Linked DNA regions of Homo sapiens: region 1 is linked to region 2. The links are contacts of gene promoters, found by promoter capture Hi-C in blood cells and fetal thymus (Javierre and others, 2016). All regions are on one chromosome and are shown on one strand. Each heading gives the region's core, a stretch centred on a gene start or on the middle of the fragment in contact. The rest is flanking DNA. Distances are from core to core; before and after follow the strand shown. Region 1 overlaps FAM174C (family with sequence similarity 174 member C). Region 2 holds the start of ATP8B3 (ATPase phospholipid transporting 8B3).

What was found. Contacts are between HindIII fragments. The CHiCAGO score rates a contact against its expected background, and 5 or more counts as called.
Region 1: a contact is called between a fragment that was not itself captured here and the fragment with the promoter of ATP8B3 in region 2, in 1 of 17 cell types (activated CD4 T cells). The highest score is 5.2, in activated CD4 T cells.

Annotation. Positions count from the first base shown.
Region 1 is chr19:1,278,342-1,285,438 of GRCh38, reverse strand. It overlaps FAM174C (family with sequence similarity 174 member C), which reads right to left. Exons shown (of 3, transcript NM_017914.4): 3 at 6,211-6,662. The coding sequence ends at 6,662. It also overlaps a transcript of EFNA2 not described here. Among named protein-coding and RNA genes, the nearest start is that of EFNA2, 4.0 kb to the left of the region's middle. RefSeq lists enhancers at 1-482, 2,006-2,852, 5,703-5,812. The HindIII fragment of the contact is 540 bases long and covers 1,435-1,974 here.
Region 2 is chr19:1,809,952-1,815,304 of GRCh38, reverse strand. ATP8B3 (ATPase phospholipid transporting 8B3) reads left to right here and starts at 3,029. Exons shown (of 29, transcript NM_138813.4): 1 at 3,029-3,119; 2 at 3,421-3,816; 3 at 4,622-4,683. The coding sequence starts at 3,569. It overlaps REXO1 (RNA exonuclease 1 homolog), which reads left to right. Exons shown (of 16, transcript NM_020695.4): 16 at 1-57. RefSeq lists enhancers at 2,236-2,395, 2,776-3,521 and a silencer at 2,946-3,315. The HindIII fragment of the contact is 25,835 bases long and covers 1-5,353 here.

The DNA of each region.
Region 1 (7,097 bases), core at 455-2,954, 530 kb after region 2:
CTCCCTGGGGCCCTCCTGGGAGTCGCCTCTCCGGACCCACGCTGTTCCCTGGGGATGGAGTAAGTCCCTACACCTCAGCCCTAAGGGTGCCGGGAGCATAGTAGGTGGACCGATGTGGAGTGTGAGCAGCTGGGGATGGGATCCAAGAAGCCCAGAGTGAAGCCCCGGCCGACAGCAAATCAGTCTCCACGCACGAATCCTGCAGGCAGGGGAGGGCCGCTGCCCGGGGGCACAGCTTGTGCAAAGACCCGGGGTCTGATCTGTTCAGGGAACGCCGAGTGATTTCTCCTCCTGGTAGGCTGACACAGGTGGGGAACTGGGGGCCTGGCCTCTGCTTTGTCTTTTTTCCAATCTATAGAGACAGTGTCTGGCCATGTTGGCCACGCTGGTCTTGAACTCCTGGGCTCAGGCGATCTTCCCACCTGGGCTTCCCAAAGTGCTAGGATTACAGGCGTGAGCCACTGCACCTGGCCTGCCCTCTGTTTTTGCCCTTATTCATGCCACAGCCTCCCTCACCAGACTCTGAGCTTGTGGAGGGTAGGCTGTCATCAAACGCTGGCTGGACTTTGCTGGCGATGCCCAGATCGTGTTGTACGTCTCTGAATTAGTGTCATTCACCAGGCCCAGTGCAGGAGAGGGAACTGCAGGGCAAGCACCAACAGCCCTTGGACCCGAAGGTCCCTGTGTGAGGCATTACCCAAACTCCTGGCAGGGACCGTGAACCCAGAGATGGGCAAGCTAACCTGTGCCCCAGCAAGGTGGGGTGGGGACCGGACCCACCACCGTCCCACAGCTCTGAGACGTGGTGGGCTCTGTCCTGTGTCTCCTGCGTGCCCTCCTCCCCCGATTCCCCAGCGGGCCACGCGGGCCACACCACCTGACCTTTGTTCAGGCTGGGTCCTGCTGGGAAGTCCTTCCACTTTTTCTTCCTGTTAAAATCTTGCTCTTCCAGAAAGGTCTGTCCCACCCAGTGCTCTAGCGTCCCTGCCAGGACAAGGTTCTCAGTTCTCTCTCCTCCAGGGAGCTCAGCCCGTCTGTTCTGAGCTCCAGGTCTCATCCCCTGACCCCACTACAGACGTCCCAGGTCGAAGGCCCAGGGCTGGCCGGGTGTCTCTTCAGTGGAGGGCGTGAACCTGTCCCAGGTGGTGGCTGAGGCAGGCCCTCTGGACAGGCTCTCTCAGCACCCCTGGAGTGAGGGCCTTGGGTTCTAGCCACACAAGGCTCTGTAGCCCAGACAGGCTGGAGAAGCTTCCCGGGCGGCTCCGTCTGGTGGGGGGCTCTTTTAGGGAGGGGGACGGCCACTCCCGGAGGTGAGCACTTTCGGAGCAGAGTGTGGCGGCTGCACCCAAGCACAGGACAAGGGGCCGTGAGCCTGGGGTCTTGGCGTGCCCGGCCCCAGCATGCCACCTGGCAAAGGTGGGAGTTCTGGAAGCTTCCTTCTACCCTGGGACCAGAAGCCCCCTCCTGCTTCAAGGGATCTCGTGGGTGAGGAGGGGTGGGCCAGGGTCGGGAGGAGGGGGTCTCTTCTCAAACCAGGACTGGGACCTGCACAGGTGGGAGCTGGAAGGGCACCACCTCCACCCAGGCATGGCAGGGCCACTCATTTGCATGCAGGGGCCACCGAGGCGAGAGCCGCCACCACCGCCACCGCTGAACGGATTTGAGCAGAAGCTCCGTTTTCCTTCTGTTCTTGTCTCTCTCAAGGTCAGAGCCCAAGCAGGGACGGGAACAAAGGCGGTGCGTCCCCCATTCAACCTCCCCGCGCCCGCTGGCCGCTCCTAGAGGAAGGACCTGGGGAAGGGAGGGGAGGGCAGGGCGTCTCCGAGGCCTGGCCCTGGGCGAGGCTGCCCCGGCAAACCCCTGCCTGGCAGGGGGGCCACTGTGGGGGTCCAAGAAGCCCTGTTCCCTCCTGGGGCTGGGAGCTGTCCCGGCTTTGGGACGCAGCCGCGGCCGGAGGTCACTCTAGAGTAAGCTTCCTGTGGAGCCAAGGGTCAGAAATCAGGCTCACTCTGGGAACAGGTGTCCGCCAAGGTCAGGGGTTATCCAGGGTCGCCCTCAGTCCCTGGTCTGGAGCCAGTACAGGGCTTGATGGGGTCTGGCCCCGCCCCCTGCTCTGCACTGCTGGGACTGGGGTCTACCCAGACTCAGGAAGGGACTTGTCCAGCCCGTGCCCAGCACCCACTGCCCACATGGCCAGGCCACAGGGCTTGGGATCAGCGTCCCGCAGCCCCTCAGCCTTCAAAGGCCGCGACGCCAGGAGGAAGCTAAAAATATGCGGGGAGAATTTCTCATTACAGAATAAATTGGACCCAATGCGCTGCCTGCCCTGGTGCCGGCAGCCTTCAGAAGCCCCATCTCAGCCAGGCAAGGATCAGGCGGCAGGGGTCACGGGGCGCTGGGGCCCGGGCAGGTCACAGGCTCCACTCAGGGCGGGAGCCCCACCGCTGTCCATCGCCCCCCACCTGCGAAGCACGGAGCTGGGGTCTGCGCTTAGCCCCAGGGGCCAGGGGCGTTTCCCCTGGGCTGGGTCGCTGTCCTTGAAAATAAAAATGTATCCCTTTCTCCAGTGGGTAACATGAAAATCCCCACCCCCATCCAGCCATGGACCCAAGATTCCTGCAACCCCTGCAGCCAGTGGTGGAAAAGAGCAGGCACACAGCCCCATTCCCAGCTCACCCTCCTCCCTCCTCCCCAGCTCCCATCCTTCCCATTCTCCTCTCTTCACACTCTCCTCCCTCCCTCCTCCCCTCCCTCCCTCCTCCCTTCACACCCTCCTCCCTCCCTCCTCCCTTCACACCCTCCTCCCTCCCTCCTCCCCTCCCTCCCTCCTCCCTTCACACCTTCACACCCTCCTCCCTCCCTCCTCCCCTCCCACCCTCCTCCCCCTCCTCCCTTCACACCCTCCTCCCTCCCTCCTCCCCTCCCTCCTTCCCTTCACACCTTTCCCCTCCCTCCCCCTCCCTACTTCCCTCCCACCTCCCCTCCCTCCTTCCCTTCACACCTTCCCCTCCCTCCCTCTCTCCTTCCTCCCCTTCCCACCCTTCTCCCCTCCCTCCTTCCTTCCCCCTTCATACTACCCTCCCCTCCCTCCTCCCCCTTCCCACTCTCTTCCCCCTTAATACCCCCTCCCTTCCTTCCTCTCTCCCTCTCCTTTTACACCTTCCTCCCCTTCTCAGTCCTCCGCTCCCTCCTCCCTCCTTCCCCTTCACACCCTCCTCCCCCCTCCTTCCCCCATCCTCTGCACCCTCCTCTCCTTCCTCCTCCTCCCCTTCCCTCCTTCCTTCCTTCCTCCTCCCATCCTTCCTCTCCATTCACATCCTTCTCCTTCCCACTCTGTCCCCTCCCTCCTCCCCTTCCTCCTCCTTCCTCTCTCCCTCATCCCACCTTCAGGTCTGGGGCCTGAACACAGACCCGTTCTCCAGTGTCCAGACACCACCAGCGTCCAGAACTTTCCAAGACAAAGGAAATGTCCCTGCCCCCACCAATCGCTGTCCACCACAGTGACTGAGGCCCCAGACCTCTCCCCACGGCGACTGAGGACCCGGACCTCTCCCCATGGCGACTGAGGACCTCTCCCCATGGTGACTGAGGCCCTGGACCTCCAGTTTTATGTAACTTAATGAAATAACGTGAATAGCCATGTGTGGCTTTGTGTCCCACAGCAAAGCACTGGGTGCTTCTCAGGGGCTGGCTGGCCTAGGACGGGGACGTCAGTGGCCTTAATGTGGGGTCAGTGGTGGCTCAGGCCCCCCACAGAGGAGATGGGCACCTGGGGGTGAGATCCCTGGAGGTGGGGAGTCGAGGGTACAGGGGTCTCAGCACCCCCAGAAGAGGCAGAGAGCCCTCCGTCGCCTGCCAACCCGAGTGACTGTGATTTGGCACATGGGGCCACATCCCTGGGGCACCCCGGCACCAGGGCGGCAGAGGAGCCCTGTCTCTATCTCCCCAGGATGAATGTCGGCCCCAAGCTGTGGGCACAAGCCGGCGCCGCAAGGAACCCAACGCATCCCGCCTTTGAGGCCACGTCCCCAGCGCCCACCCGCCCCTATTTCACAAGCGGAGAAGCCCCGCAGTGAGTCCACTGGACTCCAGCCTGGGCGGGGCCCGCTGCTGAAGCAGAGACCCCCACCCCCCCCCACCCAGAGGCACAGACCTGATATGCTGCTTGTCCAGTGGGCACACCGAGGGGCAAGGGTGGGGGGCATGGGTCTGAGACACTCCCCGGCGTGGGGTTAGGAGCTGAGCAGGTCACACCCATGTGTGTGATCGCGTGTCCCACGGGGCTGCGGGCGTCCCATCCATGGAACTGTCCGAGTTGCTTACCGTGTGTCTATGAGACTGTATTTTGTGGGTGCCTGCGTGTCTGCGTGTCTGCGTGGGAGAGGTGGAGGAAGCCACTGCCCGCCCCCGCAAGCTCCCAGGCACCCGCACACACACGCACTCCCACGGGCACACACACGCTCACAAGCCGAGCACCAGCCGGGACCTGGGGCCTTTCATTTCTCGCTGACAGGCCCCTCTCCGGCTCTGAGCCCAGGAGAACCCCTGGCTAACAGTGCATTAACCTTGGGGGGCTGCCAATTACTCTGCAGCAACGTGGGGTGCAGCACGGGCCCCGACAGGCAGAGGGGACGGAGGCAGCAGAGCCCCTCTCCCTGCTCGAGCGGGGGGCGGCGGCGGCTGGGCTGGGGGCTGCGGCATGTTCCGACTCCGGATGGCAGAGCGTGGGTCTCTCCTGACCTCATTAGAGTAATTAATGTGCCTTTTGAAGCTGGTGAAAGCGCTCAGAGCTGTGGGACGGGGGGCACAGATCACAGGGTTGGGGGCCGGGGCTGGTGTCTCCGTGCCTGTTAAAAGTGTGTCCCAAAGGGTCAGACATGGAGACAGAGACGGACAGAGACAAAGTGAAGGAGGCAGATGGAGAGATGCAAACGGGAGTTTGGAGACAGACGCAACGGCCAGACAGATGGGGAACAGCAGAGCCCGAGTCATAGGTGTGACTTGCTTGTCCCCAGTCCCACACACAGCCAGGCTGAGCCAAGCTGCCCTCCCCACCTGCAGTCTCAGGGGCCTCCCTCGGGCTCTGCCCTCACTTTAAGGGTTGCTTCCCCAACCTTCCCTGCAGGATTCCCCTAAAGAACAGGCTGGGGTGGGCAATCAGGGAGGACTTCCTGGAGGCGGCAGCTGAGGCTGGGGCAGAGAAGGACCCAGGGCACTGGAAGGGGAAGGAGAAACGTAAGCAGAGTCTTGGCAGGCCTGGTCAGACGGACATGCCCAAGGGAACAGATAGTACCAGGACAGGGGACCCTGGTCTGAAGGGGCGATAGCCTGGCCCCCAGTGGAGACAGCCCCTCCCAACCCTGGCGGCAGACAGGGAGGGTCGGCAGGTATGTGAGATGCAAACCTGGGGGACTGCCCATCCCCCAGTGGATGTGAGGACACGGTGGGTTCAGGAAGTGGAGTGACAAATGGGCTGTGCTGGACTTGCTTTCCCACATGAAGGGTTAGGACCAAGGAGACAGCCAGAGGACTGGGCGGCTCAAGGCTGCCACCTGGTGGCAGCTCCTCCTCGTGACAGGGCAGTGGCAGCTCCAGACAGGTTGCCTGTGGGGGACCTCAGGCCATGGGTACCCACGCACCATGGTCTCTCCAAGGCTAACCTCATGGGGGACAGGATGACAGGCCAGGGCTGGACTCCGCCCAGACACAGGCCCCTGCAGGAAGAACAAGGCCCCAGGGAAGCTGATTAAGCACCTTGCCTGGGATGGGGTCTCAGGCTCCAAGTCCCACAGGAGGCAGATGGGGGAGGAGTGTCCGGCATGGGGACCCAGGCCGCACGGAACTCCAGCCTCCTGCAGCAGAGCTCTGGGGCTCCCTGGAATCATTGCCAGAGGTATTCATGAGGGTGATGTGGGGATCCTCCAGGGCAGGGCCCATGAGACCCAGGCTGAAGGGATGGCATAGAGGGGGCCCTGGGGCAGGGGCTTTGACGGATGAATAGGAGTTCTCTCTAGGAAGAGAGATGCTGACAGGCAGGGCCTCATCCCAGGCAGCTGAAGATGGGTTCCTTACTTGGGAGCAAGGCTGGAGAACCCAAGCATGGTCGCAGATGGGGAACCGAGGCTGGCTTGAGCCCTGCTCCGCCACCCACCCCCACACTGGCTGCACCAGTACGCACGGGTCTAGAGGTGGCATGGGGTCAGCACCAGCTGCAGAGACATGGCTGCATTTATTGTTCCCAGCCCGGCGAGAAGGTGTTCCCAGAAAGGTTCCTTGGGTCACCTGCCCACCCAGCCTTGGCTCTGGGCTGCCATGTCCCCACGGGGGCAGGAGAGAGGCACAAGTCACAGTCAGGCAAGGGAGCCTCAGCGTCCTGGGCGGTGGCTGTTGGGGTCCCTCCAGTCTTCACCTGGGACCCTCGGCCAGGCTGGGACAGCATCCAGGAGGCGAGGCTGCATGGTCCAGCGGTGGGTGCAGGTGGCAACAGGTCGGCGGGCTGTGCAGGTTCCAAAAGGAGCTCTCGGGTTGGCACTGGGTGAGACCAGCCCCGGGGCCAGCAGGGGAATGAGCGGTGGAGCAGGGGGTTGCTGGGCACTGGGGTGGGCCCCATCTCCTGTCCTTCCCTCATGGCTGCTGGAAGGGCCGCCTCCCTGGCTCAGCATCTGAAAGCAGGGGGTCAAGGGTGAGAGGGAAGGAGTGAAGGGCCCGCCCTGCCGGGCAGAGGCTCACCCAGGTCAGGCAGGGGCAGGCAGCCTGTCCAGGCCCCTCGGTCTACCAGGGCCCAGCCTCCCCCCACTGGCCTCCCTCCCCGGCCTCCTGGGCCCTGTGCAACTGCCCACTCCGGGGGAAGGGGCCCCCAGCCAGGAGGTAGAAGAAACCTGGGAGGGGTTCCCAGAATGGAGTCAGAGCATGCGGAGGGATCCCAGTGCCTCCCTCCCTGGGGGCTCAAAAAGTCAGAGCTGTCCCCAGAGGCCGCCCAGTCTCCTGGTCTCCCAGCCTCCATGCCTGCCACCCCCCAACAGGCCAAGGTCCCCCCAGCAGCCACACTGCAGCGCAACATACCCATCATTCCCTGCCCAGAACCCTGCTAACCCCTG
Region 2 (5,353 bases), core at 1,780-4,279:
GACCCCCTTCCCCCTCACCTCCAGGCAGGGACAGAATAAATGTTTGTATGGATTTTAGATTTTGTGGTGGTCTTGGTCTTGGTGCCTGGTGAGGCCTCTGCATGTGCCCCGGGGAGGCCACTGTCCCTGCAGCCGGGACTGATTCTCTTCCCATCAACGCAGAGAAAACAGAGCAGTGAAACTTTCCCTCACAAAAGCTGGCCCAGGGCTGGCTCCCCCAGGGCTGGGCCACACCTGCTGTGGGGTCCCAGTTCCAGCCCCAGATCATGGGCCACCATCCTGCAGCTTCTAGTGCCTCTCGGACAGTGGGTGGTGTCCCCAGCCCTGTGTGGAGCTGGGCCCTGTGCACAGAGCTGGCTTCCCTCTCTGCCCTGCCCAGAGATAGGGACTGCACACAGATGGTGAGAGGGGGTTAAAGAGACTGGGAGCTGCTGTGTGTTGCCCGTCAAAGGATGGAGTGCAGACACGGAAAGCTGCTCCGGCCCTTGCCAGGAAACGCCACACATTGTGTAGTGCACGCACGTCTCGGGCAACTGTGGTTGCATCGGGACCCCATTTGGAAATGGGAGGCCCAGGGGTGTTTAGGCCCCACTTTTTATTGACCTCAAGTAGAAAAAGTGATGAGCCTTGCGGGACAGGACCCAGCAGCTGGGGGCAGGTTGCCTGGAGTGGGTTTCCTGCCACCCTGGTCTTGGGCTTCTGCTGAAGGGCAAGGCCAAGGGCACAGGTCCCGGGATGAGGACGTGGGGGCCCTCCCCAGAGGACTCCATCCCAAGGCTCCCTTCCCGGTTCTGGGCTCTGCATCTCTCCAGGGCCCTCCTGGGGGACCGTGGTTAGGCCAGGCCCTTCCACCCTCGAGGGCTGTTCTTGTGACTAGTGACTCTCCCACCTCTTCTGTAAAGGAGTTGTTTTCTTTTTCTTCTTTATTTTTGAGACACAGTCTCGCTTTGTCACCCAGTCTCAGCTGGCTGCAACCTCTGTCTGCCGAGTAGCTGGGATTATGGCTGTGCCATCACACCTGGCTAATTTCGTATTTTTAGTAGAGATGGGGTTTCACCACGTTGGCCAAGCTGGTCTCGAACTCCTGACCTCAAGTGATCCACCTGCCTCGGCCTCCCAAAGCGTTGGGATTACAGGCATGAGCCACTGTGCCCGGCTCTGTGTTCTAAATAAATGGCGCAGGCGTGTATGCGCTCTGTTTCTGTGCATTCCCATGTGATGTCTGCCTCCCCCTTCCCAGAACGCACCTGGTGCCTCAGGACATAGCCCACGGGGGGTCCCAAGGCTGGCCAGCCCTGGCTTCAGCCCCCAGGGACTCCCTTCAGCTTGTGAAGCCACCTGTTGCCACTGGAGGCTTCAGGGCCTTTGCACAAGTGCCCTGGGCAAGCTCCTGCCCCCAGATAGTGCCCCCTGCGAAGGCTGGGGTGGGGGAATCTGGTCCTCACAGCTGCACCCAACCAGGTCTCTTCTAAAGTTTATTAGAACAGTGTGTTCAAACTCCCAGCCCCGGCTTTTTTTCGTAACCACTGAGCAAGCAAGCAAGCACAGGGGAAGTGTTGAAGGAATGAAAGGAGAGAAGTCAAACACAGTGGCCTGCCTGCCTGCTTGTGGTCCCAGCTACTCTGGAGGCTGAGGCAGGAGGATCGCTTGAGCCCAGGAGGTGGAGGCTGCAGTGAGCTCTGATCGCACCACTGCACTCCAGCCCGGGTGACACAGTGAGACTCTGTCTCCAAAAAAAGAGAGGTTCCCTGGCAGCCTCCAGGGCCAAGCAGGCTTCCAATTTGGGCTTCCAAAGAAAGAGGGTTTGTGATCACCGAGAGCCCTCAGGTGGTTGCCGCTTTGATGGGGGAGGTGGCTTCCCTATCCCCCTCCACCCATGTTTGCCTCTCCCTTTGGGCCCTCACCCCAGGTAGCCTCACTCTTGGGGGCATTTCATCTTCAGCAGCCCCTCCGCACACACTTTCTGACCCTGGCTCCAGGCCCTATCGCTGGCCTGGACCCGCCCTAGCCTCGTCGCTGAACTCACCCCTGCCACTTCTTCAGTAAGGATCCCTGAGCCCCTGCCACCTGCTGGAAAGAACCCTGCGGGCTTCCTCTTGGCCTTAGGGTGGTCTCAATGGCTATAACCGCCTCTCCCCAGCCTGGTGCTCAGCCCTGCATCTGCGCCTAGGAGGCGCTCGTTGAACGTGTATGGGATGAATGAACGAACCCAGGACACGGATCAGACATGACTTACATAACCGCCGTTACCTGTGGTCCTTCCTCCTGCACTCTGCCACGCTGGCCGCACCAGCCTCAGCCCCGTCAGGTCTGCAAGGCCCATTCCGACCTGACCCAGGCCCACCTTTCCAAGAACCCTTCCAACCCCGCCCTGCGGTGCAGGTTCTTTCTGCTCCCTGACCAAGCCCGGCCCGGCCCTGCCCTGACACCCTCTTCCCTTTCAGGCTCCGCCCCTGCACTGGCACTGCTCCCTAAGGCCCTCCCAAGGCCCTGCCTTCTGTCCTGGACCCACCCTGAGCGCCCTCCTACCCTGACCCTGCTCTGCGCGGCCCCGCCTTCCTCCTTTGTAACGGCTCCGGATCCCAGCCCCGCCCCTACCATAACACTGCTCCGCAAGGCCATGCTCAACCCCGCTTCCCGCTCTGGCCAAGCCCCTGAGTCCTGGCCCCGCCCCTACTCTGACTTTGCTCAGCGAGACCCCGCTCGTCCTCGCCTTCCTTCTAGTCCCTTCCCCAAAGTCCCGGCCCCTCCCCAGACCCAGGCACTGCTCCCGAGCGTCTTCTATCCCGGCCTGTTCTGCGAGGCTCTGCGAGGCCCCGCCCTTCGGCCGTGACCGCGTCCCTGAGGCCTGGCCCCCATCCTGCTCGGCCGTGCTCCGCTCGGCCCCACCCTCGAGGCCCCGCCCCTTCTTCGCCTTGGCCCCACCCACCCCCTCCAGGCCCCGCCCCCGGCCCCCTTCCGGGGTCCGAACTGGCTCCACCTTCGCCTTGGCCGGGCCCCGAGGCCCCGCCCCGAGATCCCGCCCCCCGTTTCAGGACCGTTGGCACCGGGCTAACGGTTCCACCACGTCCGCCGCCCTGGACGCCCGCGGCCTGCCCCCCCCTGCCTCTCCTGCGCCGGTGAGCGGCGGGTGCTCCCACTGCTGTGCGTCCCCGGGAGCCCGCGCACCCTCTCTGGGCTCCACCCAGGCTGAGAGCTGGGGTCGTGGCGGCGGGGGTGGAGAGCGCGCCCCTAGAGGTTCGCGCGGTCGGGGCCCCGGGGCGGGTGCAGACAGCCCTGGACTCTGGAGCCCTGTCCAGGGCGGTCCTGTGCCCCTGCGGCTGCGGGAAGACGGGGTGGGGGGCTTCCGAGTAATGGGGCATCCCAGTTAGTGAGGGGGCAGGAAGCCAGCGCTGTGTCCGTGTCTCTTTCTGCCCCCAGATACACTTCGAGTGGATTCTGGCCATTTGAGCATTCTCTCCAACTCTCCAATCCCCAGTCTGCCCCCACGGGGGTCTCCCCCACCTCTCCCCCGTCCCACAGCCTAAACCCCTCTTCGCCCTGAACCTCCCTTTTCCTCATGCGGTGAATGGGCACTGGCCCCGCTCAGACTCCCAGGAGCACCAGAGCTGGCCCTGAGCCAAGCCCTGCCCCACCAGGACCTGGGGACACGGGTGACTCAGACGTGACTCAGGAAGGCTCAGGTCCTGCTGGCATCCGCGGAGGTGAGACGGTGATCAGAGCTGGGATGGGAGACTCCCCAGGCAGAGGGGCACCTGAGAGGAGGCACAAGGCCCAGCCTGGCCGGGCTAGGAAGTATGAATGGAGACCAGAAGGGTGAGGACGGGTGCATCGGGTGGCCGGAACACAGGGGCAGGGGCTTGGCGGGGAGGGCACTGCTAGAGAGCTGGCAGGTGGGGGGCCAGTTGCTGGCGTCTAGGGGTGGTTTGCCCATCCTCATAGGGGGCCAAACCAGGGCCCCCGGTGCAGGGCTAGAGCCAGACCCACATTCCTGAACCTGCTAGTGGAGAAGATTCCAGGATCTTCTGACGATGTCCGTCTGCCTCCATCGCCCCCATCAGAGTTTGCTGCCCAGCCTGGGGGGGTGAGGAGGGGAGTGGCCATGCCTGACCCTCATGCTGTGTTTTGAGATATAACATATAGCCCGGGGGTCCCATTCAGTCAGTGAACAGATGACTGAGCCCCTAAGCTGGTGCCACATGGGGAGAGGGGCAGGAGGCCGTCAGTGAAACCAGGAGGAGGTGAGAGTGGTCCTTTCAGGAAAAGCGAGGTGTGGGGAGCAGTGGCCGGAGGCTGGCATGGCCAGAGGCTGGCATGGCTGGCGGTAGAGTCCTTCTAGGCTGTACTGGCGGGAGGCGACCAGGGTGGCTGGCGGGGGACACTGGCAGATGGGCTGTTGCAGGTTTGAGGATCATCTTGGGGTCCCCTAGGTCTCAGGATGTCCAAGGCAAGACACACAGCCTATGGCTGGACATTCAGAGCCTGGCGGGGAGGCTGCAGATGAGTGTGGGAGGTAGCATTTGAGAGGGTCGGCCCCTAGGCTGTGAGCTCCTTGAAGACCGAGTGGTGCCCAGCAAGGGCTGGGGTCACTGCTGTGACCCGGGGCCCTTCTCTCCCACAGCCCCACCAGCATGGGCAGCCTCGGCCAGAGAGAAGATCTCCAAGATGAGGACAGGAACTCAGGTGCTGATCCTGGGCAGAGGGGGCGGTGCAGGTGGGAGGGATTATGAAGTTCAGGGCTGGCCAGGCGTGGTGGCTCTCCCCTGTAATCCCGGCACTTTGGGAGGCTGAGGCGGGTGGATCACTTGAGGTCAGGGGTTCGAGAGCCTGGGCAACATGGAGAAACCCCGTTTCTACTAAAAGTACGAAGATTAGCTGGGCGTGGTGGCGTATGCCTGTAATTCTAGCTACTTGGGAGGCTGAGACAGGAGAATCACTTGAACCCAGGAGACCCAGGAGGTGGAGGTTGCAGTGAGCTGCGATTGTGCTACTGCACTCCAGCCTGGGTGACAGAGCGAGACTCCATCTCAAAAAAAAGAAAAAAGTGCAGGGCTGAGGCTGAGACGGGCTGGGGCCCCCAGACCTGCACGTCAGGCCTTGCCTAGGATTCTCATTTGGTTTCTAGTAGTCTCCAACCCTAGTACTGACTGGGTTTGGGGGATTTGGCTCAGGATTTGGGGGCTGCATGCCCAGAAAGATCTGGGCCGCCAGCTGGATGTATGGCCTTGGACACCCAAGAGCCCATCACCAAGCCTCAGTTTACCCCCCTCTGTAAAATGTACAGGCCTGAACGGTCTCCCAGGGCCTGTTCTCTGCGTCTCAGGACAGGCCCCTGGCTGGGGGTGTGGGTGGC